3 separate regions of the Homo sapiens genome follow, and all the other regions are linked to region 3. Evidence: promoter capture Hi-C in 16 types of primary human blood cells and fetal thymus (Javierre and others, 2016). All regions are on one chromosome and are shown on one strand. The core of a region is centred on a gene start or on the middle of the fragment in contact, and the rest is flanking DNA. Distances in the headings are between cores, read along the strand shown. Region 1 has its middle 17 kb from the start of SKIL. Region 2 overlaps SKIL (SKI like proto-oncogene). Region 3 holds the start of MYNN (myoneurin).

Region 1 (3,358 bases), core at 72-2,571, 570 kb after region 3:
TTATAATCTTTTACCAAAAGTACATTCTACTTTCCTTAGACATCTTACATGTAAAATTGTTTATTCAATAGTCTCAATTACATGTCACAATGTTAACTTTTAGCCACTTCTACTTTTGGTGAAAACCCTGGTTAGTAAGCCATTTTAATTGTGTACTAGGTGTGAAGCTTAGCCTAGGACATACCACACAGAAGTGCAGATAAGGGCTGACTCTCCAGCATAGCTAGGGGGCAAGGCTAACTCCACACAGCCCCAGGCCTTACCTTACTTAAGCAGGCAAGTTGTACAGTAAGAGTCATAGTGGCATTTTATGAAGCATTTAGGAGACCTAACAACCTTTGAATTGTACATTTCTTGCATAAATTCCCTTTCACGACTTACACAGACCATCTGAGACATTCTTGGACTTTGTGACTTGCCCTAAACTTCCCTCCTTTTAAACAACCCATCAATTTACTTTAGAACAAGAATTTATCACACAAGATCTTTTCTTACATAAAATCTCTTTCTTTATAATCTTCTTTGTATAGCTAGGGGGCATGGCTAATTCCACATGTCTGCAGGCCTTATCTAGAATCTAATGGCTTTAAGATATCCATTGAACAATTTTTAAAAGTTAAAGAAGCAGTTTATGACCTTAAAGCATTTAGCAAACTTAATATTTGACCTGTATAATTTAGACTAAATGTTTTATCAATAATTTTTAAAGCTGTTTTTATTTCCCAAAGATTACTGAAGTCACATGAACTAAAAGGCATTACAGTTTGTGTTTTGCTTTCAAAATATATATATATATTTTTTGAGCCAGAGTCTCACTCTGTCACCCAGGCTAGAGTGCAGTGTGCAATCTGGGGTCACTGCAACCTCTGCCTCCCAAGTTCAAGTGATTCTCCTCCCTCAGCCTCCCGGGTAGCTGGGACTACAAGCAGGCACCACCATGCCTGGCTAATGTTTGTATTTTTGGTAGAGATGGGGTTTCACCATGTTGGCCAGGCTGGTCTTGAACTCCTGATCTCAGGTGATCCACCCACTTCAGCCTCCCAAAGTGCTGGGATTATAGGCATGAGACACCGCACCTGGCCATGCTTTCAAAATATTTGATTTAAGTGATTATTTTTGTTTAAGCCAATTAATTAGAGCTTTTTTGTATAAACATTATACACAACACATATACAGGTACACAGAAAGACAGAAGAAGATTACTACAGTAGGTGTAAGATTTTTCATTTGCCAGTTTTTAAGTTTCTTTTTTTTTTTTTGAGACAGAGTGTTGCTCTGTCACCTGGGCTGGAGTGCAGTGGCACAATCTAGGCTCACTGCCTACGTTCACACCATTCTCCTGCCTCAGCCTCCTGAGTAGCTGGGACTACAGGCGCCCACTACCATGTCTGGCTAATTTTTTTTTTTTTTTTTTGAGATGAAGTCTTGCTCTTGTTCCCGAGGCTGGAATGCAGTGGCACTGTCTCGGCTCACTGCAACATCCCCCTCCCGGGTTCAGTTGATTCTCCTGCCTCATCCTCCCAAGTAGCTGGGATTACAGGTGCATACCACCACATCCAGATAATTTTTTGTGTTTTAAGTACAGACGGGGTTTCACCATGTTGGCCAAGCTGGTCTGGGATTCCTGACCTCAGGTGATCTGCCCACCTCGGCCTCTCAAAGTGTTGGAATTACAGGCGTGAGCCACCGCGCCCAGCCAATTTTTTGTATTTTTTAGTAGATTCGGGGTTTCACTGTGTTAGTCAGGATGGTCTCGATCTCCTGACCTCATGATCCACCTGCTTCAGCCTCCCAGACTGCTAGGATTACAAGTGTGAGCCACTATGCCCGGCCTGGTTTTTAAGTTTCTTAATTGCATTAATGGCTTTATGGTGGAGCCCTTGGAAGAACATGGCCAGGAAAGGGGTCTCCTGTGCCTCCTGTTTTTCCCAAGGAGTCCAGGCTGTTAGAGCTTGAATATCCACTTTTAATTATACTGATTTTAACCATAGCACTCTTTATTAAAGTTCCTTTAGAATTTCTTATGCCAAATGGCAGATATTTCTGGCTTTTTAAACTTACCAAAGGTAATCTCCCAGGTACATAGAGAAAGGAAAATGTAAGACAGTCTGTGGAGGAGAAGAGAATAGACAAGTTTACGCAGATATTAAACCAGAAACGACTTACTTCCTAGGTGGGGAATCAAACCTGGACCACCACTGTGAAAGTGTAAAATCTCAGCTTCTGAGCTACAGCATGGGCAGTCCCCACTTCTTTTCCTGGAACGAGCCTAGAGTAGTTAATTTTGAGCTTCCAAAGGCTTTTTAACAATTTAATATGATTTTTAGAGATGAATATGATATAAATCCTAAAATTCCTGTTCCCTGATGGCAGAGACCAAAATAAAGTACTGCCACATGGTTAAAAGGTCAGGCTCCCAAGAACATAAAAAAACGTGGAGACTTCATCCAGTTTTTTTGTTTCAGGGAGCTGCAGCCAAGCTTGTTACTGACCAGCTTGCTGGGTGGTCTTGAAAAGTGGGCTTACAGGTGTTCCAAGTCCGTGTTTTATCCTAAAGTACCCTTCAACACAGAAAAACAAATTCATAGCACAAAATACACCAGCTTAAGATTAGCCTTAGAATTCTTTTCACATTAATCAAAACTTTACAGAGGAAATAAGCACTGGTTTTTGTTTGTTTGTTTGTTTGTTTTGTTTTGTTTTAACCATTCATCAAACCATCTGTACAGAGAGATAAGCCAGAAATCTGACTGGTAGGAAAATTCTTACCCTTTTGCCAGCACACCAGGCTTCTGGGTTCCCTTTCCCTGAGCAGCACTACTGATCAGGCTTGTGGCACCATCGCCCTGGGGGCCAAGCCGCATCATAAAGGGAAATTACATTTTTTTTCATTTTGGCCAGAGCAAAATATGTGTGATAAAACATAGACATTAGCCACTCTGCTTAGCAACCAATATCAAACTGACAAGGCTTAAATTTGCCCCCAGATGAACCTCGTCATTTTTTGTTTGTTTTTTGTGTTTTGTGACAGAGTCTCACTCTGTTGCCCAGGCTGTAGTGCAGTGGCACGTTCTCGGCTTACTGCAACTTCTGCCTCCCGGGTTCAAGCTATTCTCCTGCCTCAGACTCCCAAGTAGCTGGGATTATAGGCGCCCGCCACCACACCCAGATAATTTTTGTATTTTTAGTAGAGATGGGGTTTTACTATGTTGGCCAGGCTGGTCTCGAACTCCTGACCTCGTGATCCCAAGCCTCAGGCTCCCAAAGTTCTGGGATTACAAGTGTGAGCCACCATGCCCAGCCAGGCCCGTCACCTTTGATCCAACCTCTGATTTGGAGTTTCAACACGTGGTCTCTG
Region 2 (3,384 bases), core at 804-3,303, 610 kb after region 3:
CTGTTTTGGTTAGAAAAAAAAAAGTTTAACCACAGAAATGCATGTTACATATTTGATTTTTACTTAATTGTAATATGTAATATATGTCTTGTTTTGCTTTTACTTGTTTTCAGCTACTACTTATACATGTGTGATAAAGTGGTTGCCCCAAATGTGTCACTTACTTCTGCTGTATCCCAGTCTAAAGAGCTCACAAAGACAGAGGCAAGTAAGTCCATATCAAGACAGTCAGAGAAGGCTCACAGTAGTGGTAAACTTCAAAAAACAGTGTCTTATCCAGATGTCTCACTTGAGGAACAGGAGAAAATGGATTTAAAAACAAGTAGAGAATTATGTAGCCGTTTAGGTAAGTATTCAGAGATTATCTTTCTAAAATTAAATATCTAATGAACACATTTATTGAGCATTTTCAAACAGGCTTTTTGTTTGAGCTAAATTTTCAGATAATTGGAGCTTTTACCTTTAAAAATGCTACCCTTCAAAACTCTGGGTGATTTATTTTAATCTCAGTTGCTATACTTTTCTAGCGTGGTGATAGCTCAGGAGACTGAGATAGATACAGGCTACCTGGCCTCAGACTGCAAGTTATTTTTGTCCGAATTTTTTTCCTTTCCTACCTTTTATTTGCTGTCAGTCTTCAGGAGATCCTTGTTTTTCTTTCCTCCTTTTTTTTTCTTTTTTTGTGACAGAGTCTTTATCGCCTAGGCTGAAGTGCAGTGGTGAGATTGCGGTCACTGCAGCCTCAACCTTTGGGCTCAAGTGATCCTCCCACCTCACCCTCCCTAGTAGCTGGGACCAGAGGCGCACACCACTGTGCCTGGCTAATTAAAAAAAAAAATTTTTTTTTTTTTTTTTGTAGAGATGGTCTTGGTATGTTGCTCAAGCTGGTCTCGAACTCCTGGGCTCAAGTGATCCTCCTGCCTTGGCCTCTCAAAGTGTTGGGATTACAGTTGTGAGCCACCGCACCCAACCTTTATTTTTCTTTCTGATTTGCCATGAACTGAGACACCATTTAATAATAAGAAGTATTATGTAAGTAAGAGTAGTTAGGTATAGAACTCAAGGAAGCTTAGTTATGGAATAAAGCAAGGATTGAAAGCTCTGGGGGCCAGGCATATAGCATAAATGTGGAATATTGACTGGTCATTTAAAAGAAAAATAGCTGGTTACTTACCGTGCCTTTTAAAATACTGTGGATTAAATGAGACATGTCTGCAGATATTGCCTGTGTTACCATCCATATAGCAGCACAGCTTTGCTTAGTGATTAGGCAGTGTGACAGTTACTTTAGCTGCATTGGAACAGTTGGAGGGTCCTCTATTTATTTAAGTTTTTATAGAGAATTGAGATTCTTGGGGGTTTTCTTTTCTTTCTTTCTTTCTTTTTTTTCTTTTTTTTTTTTGAGGAGTTTCACTCTTGTTGCCCAGGCTGGAGTAAAATGGTGAGATCTCAGCTCACCGCAACCTCCACCTCCCAGATTCTCCTGCCTCAGCCTCCTGAGTAGCTGAGATTACAGGCATGCACCACCACACCCCGCTAATTTTGTATTTTTAGTAGAGACGGGTTTTCTCCATGTTGGTCAGGCTGGTCTTGAACTCCTGACCTCAGGTGATCCGCCTGCCTCGGCCTCCCAACCAAAGTGCTGGGATTCCAGGCGTGAGCCACCACGCCTGGCTGATTCTTGGGTGGGGGTTTTCTGGTTTTTTTGTTTGTTTGTTTGTTTGTTTGGAGACAGAGTTTCGTATTTGTTGCCCAGGCTAGAGTGCAACGGTGTGATCTCGGCTCACTGCAATCTCCGCCTCCCAGGTTCAAGTGATTCTCCTGCCTCAGCCTCCTGAGCAGCTGGGATTATAGGCATGCACCACCACGCCCGGCTAATTTTGTATTTTTAGTAGACACGGGGTTTTTCCATGTTGGTCAGTCTGGTCTCGAACTCCTGACCTCAGGTGATCCGCCTGCCTCGGCCTCCCAAAGTGCTGGGATTACAGGCGTGAGCCATCGCGCCCGGCCAGGGGTTTTCTATACATTTATTTTGAGGGTTTTTTGTTTCGTTTTTCTTTTTTAGAGACAGAGTCTCACTCTGTTGCTCTAGGCTGGTGGAGTACAGTGATGCATTCATAGCTCACCGCAGCTTCAAATTGCTGGGCTCATAGTCCTTGCACCTCAGCCTCCCTAGTAGCTAGGACTACAGGCATGTGCCACTGCGCCTGCCTCATTTTTTCATTTTTTTTGTAGAGACAGGGTCTCACTGTATTGCCCAGGCTGGCATTAAGCTCTTAGCCTCAAGTGATCCTCCTGCCTTGGCCTCCTAAAGCATTGGGATTACAGATGTGAGCCACCATGCCTGGCCAATTTTGAGATTTTTAAAACTCAGTTTTCTTCAGATTTAAATATGGTAAACAAAAATTAGTAATGACTATTATGCCATATTTACATTGTATTTTATTTCTTAAATTAATTCTAATGACTTCTAAAAAATTATTGAGATAATTTATATACCATAAAATTTACCCTTTTAAAGCCTACAATTCAGTGGTTTTTAATACATTCACAAAGTTGTGCAACCATCACAGCTAATTTAGTTCCATAATGTTTTCTTTTCTTTCTTTTTTTTTAAGATGGAGTTTCACTCTTGTCGCCCAGGCTAGAGTGCAGTGGGGTGATTTCGGCTCACTGCAAGCTCTGCCTCCCGGGTTCAAGCGATTCTCCTGCCTCAGCCTCCTGAGTAGCTGGGATTACAGGCGTGTGTCACCACGCCTGGCTAATTTTTTTGTATTATTAGTAAGAGACAGGGTTTTCGCCATGTTAGTCAGGCTGATCTTGAACTCCTGACCTTAGGTGATCCACCCGCCTCGGCCCATAATGTTTTCATCACTCCAAAAATTAACCCTATAATCCATTAGGAGTCACTCCCTGATTCTCCCTTTCTCGAAGCCTCTGGCAACCACTAATCTATTTTCTATCTTTATGGATTTGCTTATTCTGGACATTTCATATAAAAGGAATTGTACAATATGTGGCTTTTCATGTCTGGTCAAGAAGCTTATGCTTCTTTCATGAAAGATAATGTTTTCACAGTCCATGTTGTTGCATGTACCAGTACTTCTTTTTATGGCCTGATAAGATTCCATTATGTGAATATACCACATTTTTTTTATTCCTTCGTCAGTCGGACATTTGCATTGGGTCTACTTTTTGGCAATTAAGAATAATGCTGCTATAGGCCGGGCGCGGTGGCTCACGCCTGTAATCCCAGCACTTTGGGAGGCCGAGGCGGGCGGATCACGAGGTCAGGAGATCGAGACCATCCCGGCTAAAACGGTGAAACCCCGTCTCTACTAAAAAAAAAAAAAAATACAAAAAAATTAGCCGGGCGTAGTGGCG
Region 3 (3,101 bases), core at 366-2,865:
TTCTGCTTGGTCTTCGGAAGCAAAAAGAGGAAATTCAAAAGTAATTTTACACGTCCTTCCACCAGAAGCTGAAAGGATGGCTTTTTCGCGGCTGAATAACGAAAGCCCCCTGCTTCGCCCCGGACTCTGAGCAGCTCAACCTGCGGAAAGGATGTGTAATAAAACGCCTTTCCAGGGAGACAAAAAAAAAAAAGGCCACCCAAAGGAAGGGCAACTCGGGAGTGCCTGGTTTCTACTGCGGTACCCGGGCACTTTGGAAGAAAGTGCGTGCAGATTCAAGCTTTTGAAATGGTTTCAGCTCTGTTCAATTGGGCATAGGCTATTTTTCCTTTTCTGTTTTTTTCTTTAAATACATTATATTCATTCCTCTCAATTTGATAATAATCACTTGAGAATTGCGAATTGACACTTACATATCAAGGACTTTACAAAACCCTCTCCAAAGTGGGGTTTCCGTAGTGTAGTGGTTATCACGTTCGCCTAACACGCGAAAGGTCCCCGGTTCGAAACCGGGCGGAAACACACTAAAAAATCCCTTTTTTTTTTTTTTTTTTTTTCCTTCGCTTGGAAGAAAGCGTGAGATCACGCTTTGTTTTCTTTTGTTGTTTGTTTTGTTTTTTTTTCTGAGGGAAGCCTTAGCTTAATGTATGCCGGTCCTTCAAAAGACATGATAGCAATTTGAGAGTCTGAACTGTAAGTTTTTGTTACTTTATTCGTTCACCAAATGTTTTTATGGAAGCCTTGCCACGTGGAACATGTGTCCCGGGTTTTAAAAAATGAATTTGACTCACCAGCTAACACTGAAAAAATAATGTACAGCCTAGAAGGAAAGATCAAAGTGTAAAAGTGGTTAGTCCTGTCGCCTCCTGAGCATTTTTGTATTATATCACTTGGTTTTTCGTCTGAAGTGGCTGTAAATAATCGTATTAAAAATCTTCTGGTCCAGACGCAGGAAAACCTTTTCCGGTATAAAGCCCACCTTCCTCTAATGTTGCGCATGCCCACTGTGCCCAGCTGCTCCGCTTTCGTGCATCCCAGACTTCTGTCACCAGGTAAGGGCATCTTGGAAGCTGAGCTACAGTTGGCTGGGGCACAAAAAAACCAGGGGGTGCCAAGAGTTTTCAGGTACGTAAGCGGGAAAGGGGTGCCAAGTCTCAGCTAAAAAATCCCCTATGGCAGAGATCCGAGTACACATGCAGCAGTTTCCACCGGTGGGGCCCCGAGGAAGGGGAGGATGATGGGAGAAGACAAGCAACTACAAGCCCCCGCACGCAGTGCGCAGCTGGCTTCAGGAGAGAGGCCCGCGGTGCTGTGCTGCCGGGCCTCGGCGCAGAGCCCCGGCAGAGCGCCAGACGCTGACTGCCGGCACCAGAATGCTCGCGATGAGGAAGACAGGCGGAGCGCTGCGAGCTAGCGAGCCCTCAGCTCTCGTATCCATGACGCCTGCTGCTTCGGGGGACCCCTGGCATGCTGGGGAGTGGGTCTCTGTGGTACATCCTGTACCGCCCTGGCCGGCGCCGGACCCCCATGGCCCCAGAACCTCCCGCACTGCCACGGGAAGACAGAGCCGGACGTGACGCCACCGTGGAAGGAAGGGAGGGGCGGAGCGTGGCTCGGTGACGTCCTCCCAAGATGGCGGAGACAGAGTGAAGAAACTGTGTTCCCCCCTTGGGTTGCTATCGGTGAGTTCCTACTTCACCCCCAGCCCGCCATCCCGGTCTCTCTAGAGCCTGGGCCATCAGAGGGCAGGCTCCTTGGAGTTCCAGCACGGGTCGGGGCGCAGGTGGAAGGCTTGGGCTAGGCAGCCCCGGGGTGGCCTGGGCCACAACCTCTGCTGTGGAAATTCGCGGGAGTGGGAGCTGGGCAGAGGGCAGGGCGGCAGAAGCCGAGGAGGGACTGGCTTTGGTTGTCACTCTCGGATGCCGCCTCGCGTAGAGAGTGGGAAGGGAGAAGGTGTGGCCTCCTTAGCGCGAGTGATAGAACCTTTGACAGCAAGCCATGGCCGGGCGCATTCCCGGCTTTCTGGGCAGCCACCTCTCGTTTTGGAGAAACTGCACTGGGGAAACTAACAGGTTTTGGTGACTTGAGAGCAGTTTTTAAAAACTCGTACTGTTCTGCCCCTATCTGTCCCAAGAGATCATGTCTTAGTGGTTTAAAAAATTTTTTTGTAACATAAGTATGTCTACTGAGCTTGAAAATCTGAGGGTTCAACAGATGTGAAAGCGTCAGGTTTTGCTGTGCTTTTTGCAGGTGGTAGAAGTGTTGCCATTCACCGTCACTTATTGATGTGTCCAAAGGATTGTGTTAGTTGATCAAGGTAACCAAAGATAGAAAGGCACTCATCCCTTCATTCTTAACCATGTATGTTTGATAAGGATTTTCAAGGGGGCTAAAATTGTTTAAGTTATGTCCTCTGTCCCTTCCCTCACTGAACGTTGATGAGAACTTACGGTTACTGATTTACTGTTTCTTTTTGTCTTTTAGATCAAGGGTAAAATTCCATTCTGATATCAAAATGCAGTATTCGCACCACTGTGAGCACCTTTTAGAGAGACTGAACAAACAGCGGGAAGCAGGTTTTCTCTGTGACTGTACCATAGTGATTGGGGAATTCCAGTTTAAAGCTCATAGGAATGTGCTGGCCTCCTTTAGTGAGTATTTTGGTGCGATCTACAGAAGCACTTCTGAGAACAATGTCTTTCTTGATCAGAGTCAGGTGAAGGCTGATGGATTTCAGAAACTGTTGGAGTTTATATACACAGGAACTTTAAATCTTGACAGGTAAAGTACACATTTTATTTTCAGTTATAAAAGCTAGTCAGTAGTCTTCACAGCAAAAGTAGATTTGTATTTTTTCCATTCATTCTCTGAACTCAAATTCTTCACCTATTTATGCACACAATGTTTGTTTTTATAAAGAAATCAGTATCACTGATTTAGGATGAGCAGGCAATATTTTTCATAAGCACAGATAATAAACAGTAAGATTTCTGACACGTTTATTTACTGAAACAAAGCCTGTGATTTCACTTATGTAAACTTGAACATTAAACACAATGAATTTATTTTATTTTATTTTTGAGACGGGCTCACCGTCACCC

What was found. Contacts are between HindIII fragments. The CHiCAGO score rates a contact against its expected background, and 5 or more counts as called.
Region 1: a fragment that was not itself captured here is called in contact with the fragment with the promoter of MYNN in region 3 in 1 of 17 cell types (fetal thymus); the score reaches 5.0 in fetal thymus.
Region 2: a fragment that was not itself captured here is called in contact with the fragment with the promoter of MYNN in region 3 in 4 of 17 cell types (neutrophils, naive B cells, total CD4 T cells and 1 more); the score reaches 11.6 in neutrophils.

Annotation. Positions count from the first base shown.
Region 1 is chr3:170,338,593-170,341,950 of GRCh38, forward strand. No RefSeq gene overlaps it. Among named protein-coding and RNA genes, the nearest start is that of SKIL, 17 kb to the right of the region's middle. RefSeq lists a silencer at 96-296. The HindIII fragment of the contact is 2,313 bases long and covers 166-2,478 here.
Region 2 is chr3:170,384,420-170,387,803 of GRCh38, forward strand. It overlaps SKIL (SKI like proto-oncogene), which reads left to right. Exons shown (of 7, transcript NM_005414.5): 4 at 114-346. Among named protein-coding and RNA genes, the nearest start is that of SKIL, 28 kb to the left of the region's middle. RefSeq lists a silencer at 98-298. The HindIII fragment of the contact is 1,974 bases long and covers 1,067-3,040 here.
Region 3 is chr3:169,771,781-169,774,881 of GRCh38, forward strand. It overlaps MYNN (myoneurin), which reads left to right and starts at 1,616. Exons shown (of 8, transcript NM_018657.5): 1 at 1,616-1,682; 2 at 2,485-2,781. The coding sequence starts at 2,516. TRV-AAC1-1 (tRNA-Val (anticodon AAC) 1-1) reads left to right here and starts at 450; the gene lies at 450-522. RefSeq lists enhancers at 166-265, 1,156-1,705, 1,279-1,782, 1,421-1,715. The HindIII fragment of the contact is 7,916 bases long and covers 279-3,101 here.